Regions from separate parts of the Homo sapiens genome. Here regions 1, 2, 3, 4, 6 and 7 are each linked to region 5. The links are contacts of gene promoters, found by promoter capture Hi-C in blood cells and fetal thymus (Javierre and others, 2016). All regions are on one chromosome and are shown on one strand. Each heading gives the region's core, a stretch centred on a gene start or on the middle of the fragment in contact. The rest is flanking DNA. Distances are from core to core; before and after follow the strand shown.

The links. The method cuts DNA at HindIII sites, captures the fragments that hold promoters and counts their contacts. A CHiCAGO score of 5 or more calls a contact.
Region 1: a contact is called between a fragment that was not itself captured here and the fragment with the promoter of PARL in region 5, in 4 of 17 cell types (endothelial precursors, M2 macrophages, M1 macrophages and 1 more). The highest score is 7.6, in endothelial precursors.
Region 2: the fragment with the promoter of VWA5B2 here is called in contact with the fragment with the promoter of PARL in region 5 in 7 of 17 cell types (M2 macrophages, megakaryocytes, erythroblasts and 4 more); the score reaches 10.2 in M2 macrophages.
Region 3: the fragment with the promoter of EIF4G1 here is called in contact with the fragment with the promoter of PARL in region 5 in 4 of 17 cell types (megakaryocytes, M1 macrophages, M0 macrophages and 1 more); the score reaches 6.7 in megakaryocytes.
Region 4: the fragment with the promoter of KLHL6-AS1 here is called in contact with the fragment with the promoter of PARL in region 5 in 8 of 17 cell types (erythroblasts, M2 macrophages, M1 macrophages and 5 more); the score reaches 11.9 in erythroblasts.
Region 6: a contact is called between a fragment that was not itself captured here and the fragment with the promoter of PARL in region 5, in 4 of 17 cell types (fetal thymus, megakaryocytes, total CD8 T cells and 1 more). The highest score is 11.8, in fetal thymus.
Region 7: a fragment that was not itself captured here is called in contact with the fragment with the promoter of PARL in region 5 in 4 of 17 cell types (fetal thymus, erythroblasts, neutrophils and 1 more); the score reaches 7.7 in fetal thymus.

What each region holds. Positions count from the first base shown.
Region 1 is chr3:184,265,803-184,268,502 of GRCh38, forward strand. All of the region lies in intron 2 of EEF1AKMT4-ECE2 (EEF1AKMT4-ECE2 readthrough), which reads left to right. Among named protein-coding and RNA genes, the nearest start is that of CAMK2N2, 5.6 kb to the left of the region's middle. The HindIII fragment of the contact is 3,781 bases long and covers 1-2,700 here.
Region 2 is chr3:184,228,018-184,230,834 of GRCh38, forward strand. VWA5B2 (von Willebrand factor A domain containing 5B2) reads left to right here and starts at 1,568. Exons shown (of 20, transcript NM_001390846.1): 1 at 1,568-1,696; 2 at 2,363-2,650; 3 at 2,730-2,817. The coding sequence starts at 2,512. RefSeq lists a silencer at 1,336-1,675. The HindIII fragment of the contact is 8,832 bases long and covers 566-2,817 here.
Region 3 is chr3:184,313,294-184,316,000 of GRCh38, forward strand. EIF4G1 (eukaryotic translation initiation factor 4 gamma 1) reads left to right here and starts at 1,313. Exons shown (of 33, transcript NM_198241.3): 1 at 1,313-1,381; 2 at 2,196-2,252; 3 at 2,470-2,563. The coding sequence starts at 2,504. RefSeq lists enhancers at 736-1,236, 1,961-2,582 and silencers at 1,064-1,393, 1,414-2,123. The HindIII fragment of the contact is 4,143 bases long and covers 1-2,424 here.
Region 4 is chr3:183,547,429-183,550,154 of GRCh38, forward strand. KLHL6-AS1 (KLHL6 antisense RNA 1) reads left to right here and starts at 1,307. Exons shown (of 2, transcript NR_046687.1): 1 at 1,307-1,535. The region is part of intron 1 of KLHL6 (kelch like family member 6); the gene reads right to left. The HindIII fragment of the contact is 1,687 bases long and covers 980-2,666 here.
Region 5 is chr3:183,883,540-183,886,239 of GRCh38, forward strand. It overlaps PARL (presenilin associated rhomboid like), which reads right to left and starts at 1,341. Exons shown (of 10, transcript NM_018622.7): 1 at 1,183-1,341. The coding sequence starts at 1,307. RefSeq lists silencers at 1,101-1,260, 1,371-1,521 and enhancers at 1,471-1,520, 1,561-1,790. The HindIII fragment of the contact is 9,960 bases long and covers 1-2,700 here.
Region 6 is chr3:183,448,650-183,451,538 of GRCh38, forward strand. The region is part of intron 1 of SNHG33 (small nucleolar RNA host gene 33); the gene reads left to right. Among named protein-coding and RNA genes, the nearest start is that of SNORA63D, 1.8 kb to the right of the region's middle. The HindIII fragment of the contact is 177 bases long and covers 1,253-1,429 here.
Region 7 is chr3:183,472,671-183,475,370 of GRCh38, forward strand. No RefSeq gene overlaps it. Among named protein-coding and RNA genes, the nearest start is that of SNORA63E, 20 kb to the left of the region's middle. The HindIII fragment of the contact is 3,065 bases long and covers 1-2,700 here.

The DNA of each region.
Region 1 (2,700 bases), core at 65-2,564, 380 kb after region 5:
GGCTAGGTGGCTAATGCCTGTAATCCCAGCACTTTGGGAGGCCCAGGCGGGTGGATCACCTGAGGTCAGGAGTTCAAGACCAGCCTGGCCAAGATGGAGAAACCCCATCTCTACTAAAAATAGCCCAGATTGTGCCACTGCACTCCAGCCTCTGTGACAGAGTGAGATCCTGTCTCAAAAAATAAAATAAAATAAAATAAAAAAATATAGGCCGGGTGTGGTGGCTCATGCCTGTAATCCTAGCACTTTGGGAGGCCAAGGCAGGAAGATCCCATGAGCCCAGGAGTTGAAGACCAGCCTGGGCAACATAGGGAGACCCTGTCTTATATAGAAAGAAAAAAATAAAAAATAAATTAAGATGGGGTTATACTGGATTATGGTGGGCCCTAAATCCCATCACCAATGTGTTTATAAGAAGAGAACAGACACACAGGGAAAAAGGCCACATGAAAGACGCAGAGATAGGAGTGAGGGAACTACAAGGTAAGGAAAACCAAGAATTGTTGGGAGCCACCAGCAGCTGAAAGAGGCAAGGAAGAATTCTTTACTAGAGTCTTCCAAAGGAGCTTAACCCTACCAACACCTTGATTTTGGACTTCTGGCCTCCAAAACTGTGAGAGAATAAGTTTCTGTTGTTTTAAGCCCTCAGTTTGTGGTACCTTGTTACAGCGGCCCTAAGAAACAAATACAAGCTGTTAGAAATATTTTGGGGTAAGCTGGGTGTGGTGGCTCACACTTGTAATCCCAGCACTCTGGGAGGCTGAGGCGGGTGGATCACCTGAGGTCAGGAGTTCAAGACCAGCCTGGCCAACATGGCAAAACCCCATCTCTACTAAAAGTACAAAAATTAGCTGGGCATGGTGGTGGGCGCCTGTAATCCTAGCTACTGGGGAGGCTGAGGCAGGAGGATTGCTTGAACCCGGGAGGCAGAGGTAGCAGTGAGCCAAGATTGGCCACTGCACTCCAGCCTGGGTGGCAAAACAAGACTCCATCTCAAAAAATATAGGCCGGGTGTGGTGGCTTACACCTGTAATCCCAGCACTTTGGGAGGCCGAGGCGGGCGGATCATGAGGTCAGGAGATTGAGACCATCCTGGCTAACACGGTGAAATCCCGTCTCCACTAAAAATACAAAAAATTAGCCGGGCGTGGTGGCGGGCGCCTGTAGTCCCAGCTACTTGGGAGGCTGAGGCAGGAGAATGGTGTGAACTTGGGAGGCAGAGCTTGCAGTGAGCTGAGATTGCGCCACTGCACTCCAGCCTGGGTGACAGAGTGAGATTCCATCTCAAAAAAAAAAAAAAAAATACATATGTATATATTTTTTGGGGGGGTAGTATTTTTACTATCATATCTCATGATCATGTTTCTCCTTCCTTAGACTTTCTCTGGGCCTTTTGATCCTACCCTATCCACCTGATGGAAGCCCACACCATGAGGGTATTTCTAGGGCCCATTCTATTTAAAAGAAACTGATAAATTACTGTATCAGTCTGTTTTCACACTGCTGATAAATACATACCTGAGACTGGATAATCTATACAGGAAAAAGAGTTTAATGGACTTACAGTTCCACATGACTGGGGAGGCCTCACAATCATGGCAGAGGGCAAGGAGGAGCAAGTCATGTCTTACACGGATGGCAGCAGGCAAAGTGAGAGAGCTTGTGCAGGGAAATTTTCTCTTATAGAACCATCAGATCTCATGAGACCCACCCACTATCACAAGAACAGCACAGGAAAGACCTGCCCCCATGATTCAATCACCTCCCACCAGGTCCCTCCCACAACACATGGGAAGTCAAGATGAGATTTGGGTGGGGACACAGCCAAACTATATCAATTACAAAAAAAAGAATGAGAAAGATCTATGTGAACAGACATGGTAAAATCCTCAAGACCTGCCAAAATGTCATCAAATAACAAGTTTAGAGTAGAATTTTACATATGTGGGAAAAGTACACATACACACATATGTATACACACTTACATTCACATATATACATACAGTATATGTAGGAACATAAATGCACATAAAAGAAAGATCTGGGCAGGCTCAGTAGCTCACACCTTTAATCCCAGCACTTTGGGAGGCTGAGGCAGGTAGATTGCTTGGGCTCAGGAGTTTGAGACCAGCCTGGGCAACATGGCAAAACCCCATCTTTATTAAAAATACAAAAATTAGCCAAGCATGGTGGTGAGCACATATATTTTCAGATGCTCAGGAGGCAGGAGGATTGCTTAAGCCCAGGAGGTAGACGTTGCAGTGAGCTGAGATTGTGCCACTGCACTCTAGCCTGGGTGACAGAGTGAGAACATGTCTCAAAAAAAAAAAGAAAGAAAGAAAGAAAGAAAGATTTGGAAAGATACATACCAAAACGCAAATGATAGTTATCTCTGAGGATGGTACCAGGATCCCAACAGAATGAATTTCATCTTTTATTCAATATAATTCTGGAGTATATTACATTTGCAATAAAAACGTTTAAATATATTTTACATTTTATTATTTAATTTTCTTTATTATTATTATTATTTTTGAGACAACGTCTCAGTTCCATCACCCAAGTTGGAGTGCAGTAGCATGATCTTGGTTCACCACAGCCTCAACTTCCATGGCTTAGGTGATCCTCTACCACATCTGGCTAATCTTTGTGTATTTTTAGTAGAGACGGGGTTTCACCATGTTGCCGAGGCTGGTCCTA
Region 2 (2,817 bases), core at 318-2,817, 340 kb after region 5:
ACTGCCTGGACCTTTGTGAGGCCCTCAGGGCCAGGGCTGGTCCTACCTGAGGCCCTGGATCACCTGGAGGGACCATCAGCCCATCCACTGTTTCTCCCTAGGCCTGAAAGAGGGACCCTCGTTCAGGATGAAGCTGAGAACAGACTCAGTAGAGAAAGGGGGAGAGAGGTGAATGGAACCATGACCCAGGTAGTATGGAAAGAGGGCTAGGACCCAGCTGGAGCTCCCTGTGTGTTGGGTACGTGTGACTGTGTCTGTGCTCCCTGTATCATTCCTGTGCATTTCCACCCATGAAATTCCCTGGGAAAAGGTCAAGCTCTCTCCACCATGCTAAGTAGGGTGAGCAAAGGAGATGGTTGGGGTTGAGGGCTCAGATACTCAAGGAGGCAGGGATCCCCCGGGGGGATGATCCCTGGTGATAGTGATTGAAATCAGAAGGAGAGAGTTAATGCGGAGGAGTGAGAACCATGGGCCCGACTCGAAAGCTCACTTCCTACTGGCTGTCCTCCATCCCCAGCTCTCCTCAAGCTCTCTCTGCAGAATCTCAGTATGGCATCTGCCAAAAAGCTTACATGGATGATCCCCAAACATGGTCATCTCCTCTCACTTCCCCAGGGCTCTCAGACTCTTCCTTGGGGGACCTGGGAGAGGTTTTCCGGACCTTCCTACTTTTTGACAGCATAACACTGTCAAGCACATGCAAAGTCTGCCAATAACAAGGGGCCCTCCTGACAAGCAGAGATGTTTTCTCTTCAGGGCTGCGGTGATGGGTGGGGGTCACTGCTATGAGGGGACGGTCTGCAGCCATAAGAAGGCTCTTCAGGCTAGAAGGCTTCACTCCCAAGGCCCGCACAGCTGAAGAGACCAAGGGGTTATAGGCTGAGGGCGCTATTGTGCACACCCTCCCACCCCAGCAGAAGTGGTTGGCACTGCAGCGATGCCAAGGCCGGCTGCTTGGGGGTGGGAGGAGGTCGCTGCAGTGATGAGGAATCCCTGCTTGGAGTGAGTGGTCACTGAAGTGGCTGCATGAACTAAAAGTACCTGCAGGGATGGGGGAGGTTTTCTGCAGTGATGAAGAGCACTTTGCAAAGGAAAGGGGCCAGCTTCTTGGGGGAAGAGTCCTGCGGTGACGGTGATGGGGGGCTGGGGGGTTCGCTGCAGTCAGGAGGGAGGGTCTCTGCAGCGATGGGAAGCAACCCAGGGCAGGGGGTGGGGTGGGCTGGGGAATGGGATGCCGTCGTGGTAATGGGATAGCTGGGGTCGCGGCAGTGTCGGTGGCACTTGCAGGACGCCTGATTCCTGAAGAATGGAAAGGGTGGGGTCTCTGAGGCCTCGGTCCTGCAGTGACGGGGATCCGTGCGGCGGCGGGGACGCGGTCCCTGCACTGCGGTGCCCAGTCTGGCTCGGGCTGCCGCGGCTGGCGCGGAGGCGGTACCGCGCCCGAAGGAGGGGGGAGCGCCAGCCCCGCCGCAGCAGCAGCAGGCGTGGCCAGGGCAGGCTGGAGGGGCGGCCTCTCGGAACGGGGGCGGGACCACCGCCGGCAGGGCCCGCGCCCCTGCCGGGACTCAGAGCCGCTGCAGCCACAGTCACGAACTGGCGGCCGGCAGGTGCCGGGACCGAGGGCCACCCGGAGCGCAGAGGCGGCACCACCCACACGGATCCCGTGGGCACCTAGAACTCCGCGGAGGGCGCGACGGTGAGGCTGAGACTGCCACAGGGAGCGGGGCGATCCCCAGAGCCAGCCCGCGGCATCCCCTGCGCGGGCCGCGGCCACTGCAGGTGCCCCCTCCTCCCACATCAGCTCTGCCGGGGTAGGGAGCGGTAACCTGGCGGCTCCCACGGACTCTCCCTGGCCCGACACCTCTCCCGGGCTTGCCTCCCAAAGACCCCCTCTTTTCGCTTTCCCAGCTCGTTCTTCCCACCCTTAACCCCTCCACTCCGGCCAGCACCCCCGTCGGATGAGGCACCAGGGAGAGAAAGACCAAGGCCCTTTCGGCGCCCCATCCACCCTGCCCCCGCGATCCCTCGCAGGGCCGGGGGCCTCCGGGGGGATTCGGGCCCTTTAAACCTCCGCCTTCCCGGAGCATCTTCCATCTCCACCCGCGCCGCTTCCGACAGCTGGCGGCCGCGGGGGGCCCCGGGGGGCCGGCAGGTACGGGGGTGGCTGCGAGGTTGGGAGTGGGCGGTGGAACAGCTGTGACCGCCCCCACCCCCGGGGGAGCCGCGGCGGGACTGCTGGGCGCCGAAGCGCGCGTTAATCATTAACCCTCCGCGGCCCGGCTGCCCAGGTAACGCGTGAGGATGCCCTCCTCGCCACCACGCCTGCCGCCCCCTTATCTCCCCCGCCACCTGTCGCCCTCAGGAGCTCCCGCTCGGCCTCGCGCCCCGGCAGGCCCCGTCCGGGTGCTGGAGTGAGACTCTCGCGCTGGCCTCTGGAGCGCGGGGTGGGCGTCCCGTCACCCTGCGCCCAGCTTCCCCGGCCCGTTCCCGCAGGGCCGGCCTCCCGGCGCCATGCCCGGCCTGTACTGCCCCTCCAGCTGGACGCCGCTGCCGCTCACGGACTCCTGGGTCCGGGCCTGCGCCAACGGCCCCTGCCTCAGCGTGCGGGCCCGGCTCACCTACCGCAACCCGCAGCCGCAGCCGGTGGACGGTGAGGCCCGGGTGGGGCGCGGGCGCGGCGGGGGGTGCGCCGGGCAGGGTCCGACGCCGCCTCCCGCCGCCCTCCCCAGGCGTGTTCGTGTACCCGCTGGCCGAGGCCGAGGTGGTGTCCGGCTTCGAGGCCGAGGCCGCCGGACGGCGCGTCTCCTTCCAGCTGCA
Region 3 (2,707 bases), core at 63-2,562, 430 kb after region 5:
ACTTGCCTAGTTAGAATGTTTCTAACTTTTTAAACGACAAATCTCATACTACTTGCCTAGTTAGAATGTTTCTATCCTTTTAATTTCCTTTGTTATAGGCCTTTCAAGGACCTAATCTAAATTCTTTTCAAAGCCTGCATAATTCGTGTTGTATCACGATTTACTTAGGCAGGACTGAGTCTTTAATTTCTTTTTTTCTTTCTTTTTTTTTTTTTTTGAGATGGAGTCTCACCCTGTCGCCAGGCTAGAGTGCAGTGGCGTAATTTCGGCTCACTGCAACCTCCGCCTCCCGGGTTCAAGCAATTCTCTGCCTCTGCCTACCGAGTAGCTAGGACTACAGGCGTGCGCCACCAGGCCCAGCTAATTTTTTGTATTTTAGTAGAGACGGGGTTTCACCATGTTGGCCAGGATGGTCTAGATCTCCTGACCCCGTGATCCGCCCGCCTCGGCCTCCCAAAGTGCTGGGATTACAGGCGTGAGCCACTGCGCCCGGCCCATGATCTTTTTAAACTACAAATCTCATACTACTTGCCTAATTAGAATGTTTCTATCCTTTTAATTTCCTTTGTTATTGGCCTTTCAATGACCTAATCTAAATTATTTTCAAAGCCTGCATAATTCGTATTGTATCACGATTTACTTAGGCAGGACGGAGTCTTTAATTTCTTTCTTTTTTTTTTTTGAGATGGAGTCTCGCCCTGTCGCCAGGCTAGGCTAGAGTGCAGTGGCACAATCTCCGCTCACTGCAACCTCTGCCTCCCGGGCTCAAACAATTCTCCTGCCTCAGCCTCCCAAGTAGCTGGGACTACGGGTGCGCCACCACGCCCGGCTAATTTTTGTATTTTTAGTAAAGACGGGGTTTCACCATGTTGGCCAGGATGGTCTCGATCTCTTGACCTCGTGATCCGCCCACCTCGGCCTCCCAAAGTACTGGGATTAAGGTGTGAGCCACCGCGCCCCGCTTATTTTTTTTTTTTTTTTGCCGAGACTTTGATTTCAGTTTCTCAGCCCTCAACCAGCACTTCGCCTTGTACTTAGCATGCACTCAATAAATGGTTGCTTAAAATATGAATGAACTAAAGAATCGCGGAACAGAGAGAAACACAGAGGGGAATCGGTCTGGGAGTTTCAAAGTTCGGGAGGGGACACGGGGGCGGGCTGTGGCTGTCACGTGACGGGGCGGGGGCAAATCCCATGTGCTCGGCGGCGCAGATCGCCCGGCGCGGCTCCGCCCCCTGCGCCGGTCACGTGGGGGCGCCGGCTGCGCCTGCGGAGAAGCGGTGGCCGCCGAGCGGGATCTGTGCGGGGAGCCGGAAATGGTTGTGGACTACGTCTGTGCGGCTGCGTGGGGCTCGGCCGCGCGGACTGAAGGAGACTGAAGGTAAAGCCGCCATGTCCGGGCCCGACCCGGCCCCCCCACCCCCTCCCCCCGCATCCGCCGCCATCCGGGCCGGGACCGGCCACCCTGCGCCGCCGCCCCGGCGCCCTGGCCCCGCGGCCCGACCCAGGGCCCCGGCCCGCCAGGGTCCCGATCCCCGGCCCACGTGTGCCTGGCCCGGCCGGGCCTGGCTGCTGGGTGGGGGTGGGGAGCGCAGGGCCGGACTATGCGGGCCCCGCGGGCTGGTAGGGCGCCGGGTTCGTCGCCGCGAAATGCCACCTCGGCCTGACCCGAGGAGGCCCGGCAGCCCACGGGCGCAGGCACCACGGCTCCCGGCCCGCCGCCCCCTCCCCCCTTCGCGGCCAGGCCGCCGGGAAGTGACACGTTGTTCTTTGGCACTGGCCCGCGCTGCGCAGGGAGGGCGCAGGGGAGGGAGGCGGTGGCGGCGGGCAGGGAGGAGCCCCCGGCCCCGCCCGCCCTCCGGGCCGACCCTCACTTGCCTGAAACCGGCTCCTCGACGGCCGCCGCCCGCCTGGCCTTTTAGGGCCTGACTCCCGCCCTTCCTGGCCTACACTCCTGGGCGGCGGCAGGCCTAGCTTCTGGCCCAGTGCGGGTTCCCCGGCGGCAGGCGTATCCTGTGTGCCCCTGGGCCAGGCCCGAACCCGGTGTCCCCGGGTGGGGGGTGGGGACGCCACGGCCGAAGCAGCTAGCTCCGTTCGTGATCCGGGAGCCTGGTGCCAGCGAGACCTGGAATTTCCGGTCTGGTTGGTCTGGGGCCCCGCGGAGCCAGGTTGATACCCTCACCTCCCAACCCCAGGCCCTCGGATGCCCAGAACCTGTAGGCCGCACCGTGGACTTGTTCTTAATCGAGGGGGTGAGTGAGGGGTCTGTTTCAGTAGGTCAGGGGTTGGTTGGAAGTGATGCGGGTTTGACAGCATGTTGGTGGGGACAGGCTGTATCTTTTCTGCTTCACCCTCTTGGCATCTCTGGGACTCCGTATGGGACCCAGCCCTTGCATCAACCCTTTCACCGCCCCATTTGCCTTAAGCTTGGGTCCCTTCCTCTTCCTGAGCGCCACTCTTTCCCAACAGGTGCTGGGGGGACCCTGATGTGGCACCAAATGAAATGAACAAAGCTCCACAGTCCACAGGCCCCCCACCCGCCCCATCCCCCGGACTCCCACAGGTAATTAGGGAGGAATTAGCAGGGGTGGGGGTGGGGGAGACCAGGCAGTCTCCAGCCTCTGGATCTTCCTACCCCCATCTGTGTCAGGGCAAAGTGCAGCCGCCTGCTGCCAAATTGAGACAGGGCCCCTGGGCTGTCCCCGGG
Region 4 (2,726 bases), core at 57-2,556, 340 kb before region 5:
ATTTGTCTACCTTTTCTCACATGCATATCTTTCCATAGTTTACATGCAATTTTGCATCTTGCTTTGCCCCCTGTTTTCATTATAATATTTTTCCTACGGTGCTCCATGCTTTTCATAATGACTATTTATTATATTGCTACCAATTTCAACAGAGGCATAATATGAAAATCATTCTCTCACTGTGGACATTTAGGTTGCTTCCAGTATTTTGTTTTTATACGTGACGTGGTAATCTTTGCATTAAGCATTTTTTCCCAGTTTGGAATATGGACGGCCTACATTTTTTCAGGCACTTTGCTGGATTCTTTTTATTTCATTCAGTCTTCATAATATCAAGTAGATAGCATGGTGTCCATTTCATCCTTGGGGGAGCTCACTTTGATGGGAAGAGTGGTTTCCCCATGATGTCTAAACTGAAAACAGGCCTCTTCACAGAGAACAGAAATGTGGCTAACAGGTCATTTCCTATGACCCCTCAGCTCCCCAAGACTCTTTTGCTAGTGTAGGCTACATAAGCTGAAAATGAGGAGGAAATGTAAAAATCAGAGCCTCCTTGTGCTCATACACACATGCACAGGCAGGATACTGTTGGAACATTCATTCCAGTTTATGTCTGGGGGCTGAGCTGACAGACCCCCATAGCAGCAAGGACCCAGCATGCCTTAGGACATCAGTCTGGATCAAAGGGTTAAAAAAGAGACAAGGAAGCAGGGTCAGGGTGTGCAAGGTGAAAAGACAGTGCGCTCTGAAAATATATGGGACCTCACTGTGGCTAGAACCAGAAACTGGTTCTCACCATTTGGGAAGCCCAGCTCACTGCAAAATATGGCACACTCTGTAAGTGACAGTGACCTGTGAGGGCAGCCCTGCTGTGATTCCCAGGGTTGGCAGAGGGAGGGGAGTCCTAGTGATGAGGGGAGGGGTTATCAGGCTTTTCTCTGCCCTGTCTCATGACTGGCCCTTCCTTCATGCATAGAAAAGCTTCCAGGCTGAGGCTGAGTCATTAGCAATCTCCTTTGTTGATGCTGCTGCCTGGAATCCTTGTCTGGATTCCTGTCTCACTCCTGTCTTGTACCGCAGTCTCTAGGTCTGGTTCCTTGAGGCTATGTTGAGAGGACTTTACCCGCCAGCTACAAAAATCAGGCATAAGGCCAGGAATGGGAAGGTTATTGTGAGCACAATCTATGCACTTGTTAATCATTATTACATATTAACCAATTACTGCATGGCAGAAAAGTGGGGCAAGAGACTACTCTTAAGCCACATGTAGATGTTGTAATCCTGAGCTTTGTCTCCATAATGGGGTAAGATGTCAGAAAAGAGTCAGAAAGCCCAGGTGATAGAATAAGTGCCAAGAACATATACACCATGGAATACTGTGCAGCCATAAAAAGGAATGAGTTCATGTCCTTTGCAGGGACATGGATGAAGCTGGAAACCATCATTCTCAGCAAACTAACACAGCAACAGAAAACCAAACACCGCATGTTCTCACTCATAAGTGGGAGTTGAACAATGAGAACACATGGACACAGGTAGGGGAACAACACAACCCGTGGCCTGTCGGCGGGTGGGGGACAAGGGGAGGGAGAGCATTAGGAAAAATACTTAATGCATTCAGGGCCTAAAACCTAGATGATGGGTTGATAGGTGCAGCAAACCACCATGGCACGTGTATACCTATGTAACAAACCCGCGCATTCTGCACATGTATCCCAGAACTTAAAGTAAAATTTAAACAAATTTTAAAAAAGAGAATAAGTGCCAAGAAAAACAAGAATGAGTTAAGGCCATGTAGGTCTGTATTAAAAATCTGGCTAACAGCAAATGTGTTGAGGATTGCTGCTGCCACAGTGGGTACACTTGAGAACTCAAGTGAAGCCAATGATTGTAACACCAGGGTCAGGCCCTATATTTTCCACTTTTAATATTTTCCAATATTGTGGATCAGAACCAATATGATAGTAAATATTTCAGCATTATATATCTATAATCCCTTATCTGTAGTTTCAAAATTCCCAAAGTGCTGATAAATGTAAAGTTTTTTGTAACTTATTTCATGGCTAAATCCAACTTGAATGGCACTCGTCAGGTCGGGACACCTGAGTCTTGCTCTGTTGCCCCGGCTGGAGTGCAGTGGCATGATCTTGGCTCACTGCAACCTCCGCCTCCCAGATTCAAGCAATTCTCCTGCTTCAGCCTCCCGAGTAGCTGGGACTACAGGCATGTGCCACCACGCCCAGCTAATTTTTTGTATTTTTAGTAGAGATGGGGTTTCACCATGTTAGTGCTTGACTCTTAAATAGGAACAGATATCCAAAGACTACCAGATATTTAAGTATAGCCTCTAAAATAAAAGACAGAGGCCAGGTGTGGTGGCTCATGCTTGTAATCCTAGCACTTTGGGAGGCCGGGTCAGGAGGATCCCTTGAGCCCAGGAGTTTGAAACTATCTGGGCAACATAGGGAGACCTTGTCTCTAGGAAATAAATAAATACATACATAAAATAGAATAAAAGAGACAAAAACAAAGAGAAAAATACAGTGAAAACAAACAGTAAAAAACAAACAAAAACAGAAGAGTGGTTTTTTAAAAAATATAAACCTCAAAGAGATTAAGTGAAAATATGACCTATACAAAACAAGAACAGGATGTTATAAAAAGGAAGCTTCATACATAAAACAAGAAAAAAGTCTTGGAAGTTAAAAACTGAGATTCTCAACAGG
Region 5 (2,700 bases), core at 91-2,590:
GATTACAGGCGTGTGAGCCACCACGCCCGGCCAGTATTAATCTTTTCTTTCCCCCTTAAACCATGCAATCTCAAATGGGATTACCACCTCCATCTGTCCTCATTTTCCACCTCCCCAGGAGTTTAAGATTAGTGCCTGACAGATCTATGTTAGTGTATGAAGATACAATGTATGTAAAGTTTTCACAAGTCCCTGATAAAATTCACCTGGAATGCTTGTCGGACATATAGGTTCTTCCACTCCACCCACCCCTCTCCTGATTGTGATTTGGGAGGACTGGGGTGAGGCCTGGGACATAAAATCCATACAAACTCTTCAGGTGATCCTTGAGATTAGGCAATGGCTCCGCCACATTAGAGCCTCGATTATTTACCACTGACTATCCCACGTGTTGATAAACAATGTTTCTTATCAGCAATCAGGTGGATTCGAGGCACCCATCTAACCAAGTCAGAAATTGGAAGGAATGAAGTTTTGAACAAAAGAGGAGGAAAATTTTCAAAGCCAAATGCACATCAGATTCTTAAACAGGTGAGGAATTTCTCTCTTCTCTCTCAAATTAGAAATGAATTACTGTGATGCAAAAATCAGCAATACTGATCAACCATACGCTTCACACTTCTACTCGGAAGGTTCGGCAGTTTTCTTTCCAAATCAACCGGAAACGAAATCTTCCACTGTCTCAATTCAACAATAAAGCCTCTCCTACGACTTTGCCAGACACAAAGTGATACCTTCCATCAGACTTCGTCCTCCCTTAGATCACAAGCTAAAGAAGGCGACTGGTTGTAATGGAACACAACCTTTATAATTAGATGGAAAAAGAATAAAAACCGCCATTCTGCCAGCTGTACTAACTTCTTCACTTCAGAAACTGGCTCAACAGTTTCCACTCGCGATTATGAAGTGTGGCACGCAATGAACCCTCAGCTTAGTTCCCCTTCCAGTCACGTCCTTCCCAATGGGAAAGGAGAAAGCGCAGGCTCGCGGGGGGCTGGGCTGGGCAAGGGGAGCGAGAAGCGAGGACTGGACGGAGGCGAGAGAGGAGAGAGAAGGGGCAGGTAAGGTGAAGGGGGTGAGCTGGGGCCAGCACAAGAGGCCCAGACGGCCTCCGCCCCCGAGGATACACGGCCAGAGCTCAGGGACCAAGAGGCGAGAAGACCAGAGCGCGGCGGCTATTACCTGCGTCCGAGGAGCTGCGGCGGGGTTAGGACCGCAGTGAGCTCCTCGCAGCTGCGGCCGCCCACCGACGCACCCCACGCCTGGCCGCAGCCCCAGCCTCTCTGCGCCCAGCCTCGCCACGCCATCTTCCCAACCTCTGCCCCACCATGGCCCGACCTTACCAACCCCAGCTGCGCAACTACTTCCGGGGCGAAGGCAACACCATAGAGCACGAGGAGCAGTCTAGAGCGCCCCCGCGCGGCTGAGCGGCAGCCGAACCAGCCACGGTGCCCGGACGACTGGCTGGCGCCCTTCTGTCCCACCGCTTCCCCTCCCACTGCTCAGCTGGCTCCGGGAGCGACCTGCGAGAGTGGCCCGGCCTCCCGGCATTTGCAGATGAGGAGGATGGGGCCAGAGCGAAGAGGGACAACTGTCATTTTTTCGAGTAACGGCACATACCAGGCGCTTTGCCTAAGATCGCATTTAATCGTCACAGCACTGCTAGAGGTAGATGTCATCACTGTTTCACTTTGCCTCTGGTCAGAGGGGATAGGACTTGCCCGGAGTTGCAGGGCTGGTCCCTAGAGGAACCAACGTGGCAAGCCAAGTTTTCTTAAATTACTACTTTTTTCTGCATCTCACCACTTCGTGTTATTCTGTATGCCTTTAACAAAGTCCAAGCCTATCGGGCGGGGTGGCTCACCCCTTTAATCCCAGCACTTTGGGAGGCCGAGGCCGGCGGATCACCTGAGGTCAGGAGTTCGATACCAGCCCGGCCAACATGGTGAAACCCCGTCTCTACTAAAAATACAAAAATTAGCCGGGCATGGTGGCAGGGGCCTGTAATCCCAGCTACTCAGTTGGCTGAGGCAGGAGTATTGCTTGAACCTGGGAGGCGGAGGTTGCAGTGAGCCGAGATTGGACCACTGCACTCCAGCCTAGGTGACAGAGCGAGATCCGTCTCAAAAAAATTACAAATACAAATACAAAAATTAGCTGGGCGTGGTGGCGCAAACCTGTAATCCCAGCTACTCGAGAGGCTGAGGTGGGAGAATCACTTGAACTCGGGAGGTTGCAGTGAGCCGATATCGTGCCAGCCTGGGCAACAGAGTGAGACCCTTTCTCATAAATAAATAAGTAAATAAACACAAAATCCAAGCCTGAAATGAAAAGCGGGCTTTCACTTTTTCATAATCCATCCCTCAACTACCTGTCAGTTAGCTTGATTCCCTGCCATTCCATTCCCCCCGACCCTAGCTGCAGCCATACAGTCATTGGCCATTACTCAAAGGCACCATCCGCGTTCCCACTGCTGAGCATTCATGCTACCGTTCTCACCACTTGAAACATCTAACCGACTTGTCCTTCAGGTCAGCCTCAAGTGTCACCTCTTCCAGGAGGCCTTTCCCAGACCTCCACTCCAATTTAGATTCCCTTCCTTTGTACTCACATACCGCTTTATGCTTATCTCTGCAATAGCACTTCATTCATTCCATAAGCTCTTATTAAGCACCTACAGTGTGTCAGGTGATATGTTAA
Region 6 (2,889 bases), core at 91-2,590, 430 kb before region 5:
CTGTGTAAAAACAGACCAACTAGCCAGAGTTCAATATTGGTTTACAGTTATGTTTGTCTTTAGTTTCTGTAATTAAAACTGTATTATACAGGTTATGAAGGCAGTCATAGAGGTTTTATGACTATAGAGGTTACAAAGTCTCTATAATTAAGATGTGGAACTAGTGTGTGAATAATATAAAAAGACAAGTAGAATAGAATAGAAAATCCAGAAATAACCCCAAGTGCAGGTAGAAAGTTAAAGATAAAGGTGCTATCACATATCATTGGAGCAGAGTTGGGCTTTGTAATACACAGAGCTGGGCCAACTGGTTGGCCATTTGGAAAAAGATAAAATTAGATCTACACCTTATAGCGTAACAAAAATGAAGTCTAAATGGATCAGGGATCTAAATGTGAAAAATGAAACAATACAAGTACTAAAAAGAAAAAGGCTTTCTAACTATGACTCAAAAAACCATAAGCAATAAAATAAAAAGTTGATAAATTTGACCACATAAAACAAATAGCATGGCAAATACATCATAAAGTCAAAAGACAACTGAAAAAAAAAACTGGATTGGGAGAAAATATCTGTAGCACGTATCACGGGTAAAGGATGAAGATCTTTCATATTTAAATTTGAATTTTAAAACTTTTCCAAATCAATTTTCTCTGTTTACATTCAGCAGTGGCAAAGTGACTTTATCTTTTACATAAGAATATGTCAAAAAAGTAGCAAGTTATACTGCTTTTAAAGATAAGAGTCATCCGTTTAAAAATACTTATTATATCATGTGTCTTAGGGCCCCAAAGGAAACCCTAACACAGGAATTCCTGTGCAAATAATTAGAAAGTTTCCAGGAAAAAATCACAGGGTAATAGAGAAATAGAATAGAAAGGGAAGGAAGGCCAGTGAGCAAGCTGCTCTAAGCCTGTTCCCCTGGAGGTGGCTCAGTGCTGCTTAACTCTAAGTCAGTGTGCATGGTCAATCCCTGGAGTCGTCCTTACCAGAGAACCAGCAGGCTGGTGTGTTTATGTCTCTACCGAGTCATTAGTTAAGGTCTGCCCTCAGGGAGACCTAACTTCCCAGATACTTCGGGTTTTATAAAAATATAAAACATCATACTTAAGACTTAGTATAAAGTTGTCCATTCAGAACCTTCTTTTTAACTATTGTCCCTGTATGCAGGGAGTTTTTGTTTCAAATTAAACAAAAACTAGGGTTGCAGATATGGTTTATAGGACTGTATCTCAACAGACTGACAAACTGAAGCTTTCTTTCTGGGTAGACTGGGATCCATGCCTTTTCTGTTCACTGTTGTCAAGTTTAAATGCAGTGTGCAACATGAAAACCGCAGTGATGTGTTATTAGTTGGGAATCTTTGTCATTTGGGATATCTGCATGCTATCTGTTTTCAGAGCTCACTGCTGTATTAGCTATGAAGTAAAGCTTGTTTTAACAAAGCAATAGGCTTCATTAAGATCAAGGCTGTGTATAAGTCATGGTTTCCTACTGGAAAGATAATTATCTTTAAGGTAAATGATAACCAGTGAATACATATCGGAACAACTTCCCTGGAGATGTCAATGCAGAGCTTATTCCCTGTTTATACATCTTAAACACAGAATAATAATGTAGGAAATGTCTATTTTGATTTTTCCTAGGCCTTTTTTTAGCCAGTGATATTTAGGATATGGGAGGGAAAATAGCCTAATGAAGCAAGTTGCTACACATGAATATCTAGAGGTGATACTAAGACTTTCGAAAAATAGACTTTATTTTATTTTTAAAATGGTTTTAGGTTTCCAGAAAAAAGTTACAGGTTTACAGAGAAGATAGTACAAAGAGTTCCCATATACCTTGCACCCTATTATTCCTGTTATTAACATTTTATGTTAGTATGGTAAATTTGTGGTGTAATTATATTATGGTTATTATGATACCATTTTTTTCTTTTTCTTTTTTCTTTTCTTTTTTTTTTTGAGACGGAGTCTTACTCTGTCACCCAGGCTGGAGTGCAGTGGCATGATCTCAGCTCACTGCAACCTCCACCTCCCGGGTTCAAGTGATCCTCCTGCCTCAGCCTCCCGAGCACCTGGGACTACAGGCGCACACCATCACACCCAGCTAATTTTTGTATTTTTAGTAGACAGTGTTTCACCATATTGGCCAGGCTGGTCTCGAACTCCTGACCTCATGATCCACCTGCCTTGGCCTCCCAAAGTGTTGGGATTACAGGTGTAAGCCACCTCGCCCGACCAGTGTGATACAATTAATGAACCAACATTGATGTGTTATTATGAACTAAGGTCCACAATTTATTCAGGTTTTCTTAGTTTTTATGTAAAGTGCTTTTTCTGTTCCAGAATCTTATCCAGGATACCACATTCCATTTTGCTGTCATGTTTCTTTAGACCCCTCTAGGCTGTGACAGTTTCTCAGATTTTTCGTATTTTTGGTGACCTTGACAGTTTGGAGGAGTATTACTCAGGTATTTTGTAGGATATCTTTCTGTTAGAATTGACTGATGTTTTCCTCTGGATTAGACTTGAATTTGGGGCTTTGGGGAGGAAGACCACAGATATAAAGTGTGATTCTCTTTTTTTTTTTTTTTTTTTTTTTGCGACAGAGTTTTGCTCTTGTTGCCTAGGCTGGAGTGCAATGGTGCAATCTTGGCTCATTGCAACCTCTGCCTCGCGAGTTCAAGCAATTCTCCTGCCTCAGCCTCCCGAGTAGCTGGGATTACAGGCATGCACCACCATGCCTGGCTAATTTTGTGTTTTTTGTATGGGGTTTCTCCATGTTGGTCAGGCTGGTCTCGAACTCCCGACCTCAGGTGATCCGCCTGCCTTGGCCTCCCAAAGCACTGGGATTACAGGTGTGAGCCACCGCACCCAGCCTAAAATG
Region 7 (2,700 bases), core at 74-2,573, 410 kb before region 5:
TCACAACCTATGAGGGGGTGATGAGCTCCCCATTTTGCAGAAGAAGAAACTGAGGCACAGAGATACCAGGTTAACACCTAATGTCTATAAATTCCAGACAGACCCCATGGCAGCTCAGAACAGCTAGCTGGTCAGCCCAGGTCCCGTCCCTCCTCACCTGCCCTTCCTCCCCCATGCAGCACGGATCATCCCAAGTTCCCATCAGAAGGAAAGGGCAGGGGAACAGGTGGGTGGGGTCAAGAGAAGCAATCCAAGAAAGAAGAGCATTTGCTTCACTGTCTGAGGTTTGGAATCATTTGTGTTTTGCTACCTCCTGCGTTTTGCTAGCCCTTGTTCTCATTTTTTTTTAATGGAGTTTCGCTCTTGTTGCCCAGGCTGGAGTGCAGTGGCGCGATCTCGGCTGACTGCAACTTTCACCCCCTGGGTTCAAGCAATTCTCCTGCCTCAGCCTCCCAAGTAGCTTGGATTACAGGCACCACCATCATGCCTGGCTAATTTTTGTATTTTTAGTAGAGAAGGGGTTTCACCATGTTGGCCAGGCTGGTCTTGAACTCCTGACTTCAGGTGATCCACCCGCCTCGGCCTCCCAAATCCAACGCCTGGGATTACAGGCGTGAGCCACCATGCCCAGCCTTCAATTCTGCTCTTGTAGCACAAAAGCAGTCATAGACAGTAAGAAAACAAATGGGCGTGGGTGTGTTCCAATACAATTTATAGACACTGAGATTTCAATTTTATATAATTTCATGCATCAATGAAAAAGTATTTGTCTTCTGATTTTTTCAACCATTTAAAAATGTAGGCAGGGCGTGGTAGCTCACACCTGTAACCCCAGCACTTTAGGAGGCTGAGGCAGGCAGAACCCTGAGGTCAGGAGTTTGAGTCCAGACTGGCCAACATGGCGAAATCCCATTTCTACTAAAAATACAAAAATTTGCCGGGCTTGGTGTCGGGCACCTGTAATCCCAGCTACTAGGGAGGCTGAGGCAGGAGAATCGCTTTAACCTAGGAGGTGGAGGTTGCAGTGAGCCGAGATTACTCCACTGCACTCCAGCCTGGGTAACAGAGTGAGACTCCGTCTCAAACAAACAAACAAACAAACAAAAAACCAGTAAATACCATTCTTAGCTGTGGACCACACAAAACAGACATTTGGTCCACAGGCTGTATTTTCTGACCCCTGAAGTAGCAAATAGAAAGAGGGAAGGACGATTGAGAGTGCTGCAGAGGGCAATCTTTTCTTATTTGTAGAAATGATGTGTTAAAAAAGAAAGGAAGAATGAAATGAAAAAGAAAAAAAGACAGAAGAAACCAGACAAACTTAGGGAAATAAATCATGAAAAACTAGGCCATGTACAACTCTGTAGACCTTTTGAGAACCTTTGCTTTAAGTGAAATGGTTGTGATTAGAGGGTTTTGAGCAGAGAAATGCTGTGATCTGATTTATGTTTTTAAAGGATCATGAGGTCCAACTTTAACCTGGTTTTGGAAGAGGAAGTAGTTGGAATTGAGTGTATGAATTCACAAATAAAACACCAAGGGGAAATTCTCTCCTAATACTTAATTATTCTCCCAGTTGTGTGTGCTCAATTAGTTCATGGCTTAGCTAAATCACAGGATATAACTAAATCAAAGCGGAATACTTTCAACCAGAGTAAAGTTTTTTCCCTCCGTGTGTCCAAAGACTTTTCTCTATTGAATCCGATGCATGATAAAAAGACATTTGGATTCCATTTAGATCCTTATTGGCCAGAAACAAGCTCCAAAGTTTGGATATTCGTGCTGGACAAATTATTTTTCTTTTTGAAACCAGTTTGTATAATTCAGCAATGGAGCTGGGTGCGGTGGCTGACCCCTGTAATCTCAGCACTTCGGGAGCCCAAGGCAGGTGGATCACCTGAGGTCAGGAGTTCAAGACCAGCCTGGCCAACATGGTGAAACCCCTTCTCTACTAAAAATACAAAAATTAGCCGGGCATAGTGGCAGGCACCTGTAATCCCAGCTACTTGGGAGGCTGAGGCTGGAGAATCGCTTGAACCCGGGATGTGGAGGTTGCAGTGAGCAGAGATCATGCCATTGCACTCCAGCCTGGGTGACAAGAGCAAAAGTCAGTCTCAAAAGAATAAATAAATAAAATAAAAAATAATTCAGCAATGGAAGTATTATAGCAAGTCCTATATAGGCTAGGACTATGGCTTATATTTCTGTGTTAGTGCCCCCTTCCCTTGGCAGAATGTTGGCTACAGAGATAAGGCTGACTAAATAATCCTAGTGGCTCAATGCAATTGCCTTGTGCATCTTACCATCTTCAAGGTACCCACATCAAGGGACAGTAAGTAAATGAGGATTAAGTGATAGGTAAGGCACCAAGCATCATGCCTGGTGCCCAGTAGATGAAAAAATGGGCCCTGGTGCTGAGTTATATGGCAACCTGCTCAGGCTGGAAAGGAGAAGACAAACCCTTCTACCTCTGGCTATTTTCATCATGGGTTCCCCCAGCTCCTGCTTTTCCTTTCTGGACCATGCTCCGTGTTGATTCATTCACCCAGATGTTTCCTGCTTCCTTGCATAAGAAGTATATGATGGTCACATTAGCTCTCACTACCAGAGATGGAAACTCTGGCACCCAAAAGAGGTCTCTTGCTGGGACTAGCTTCCCTAGACTCAGTCTCTTGGCCAGAATCTTCACTTGGCCAACTT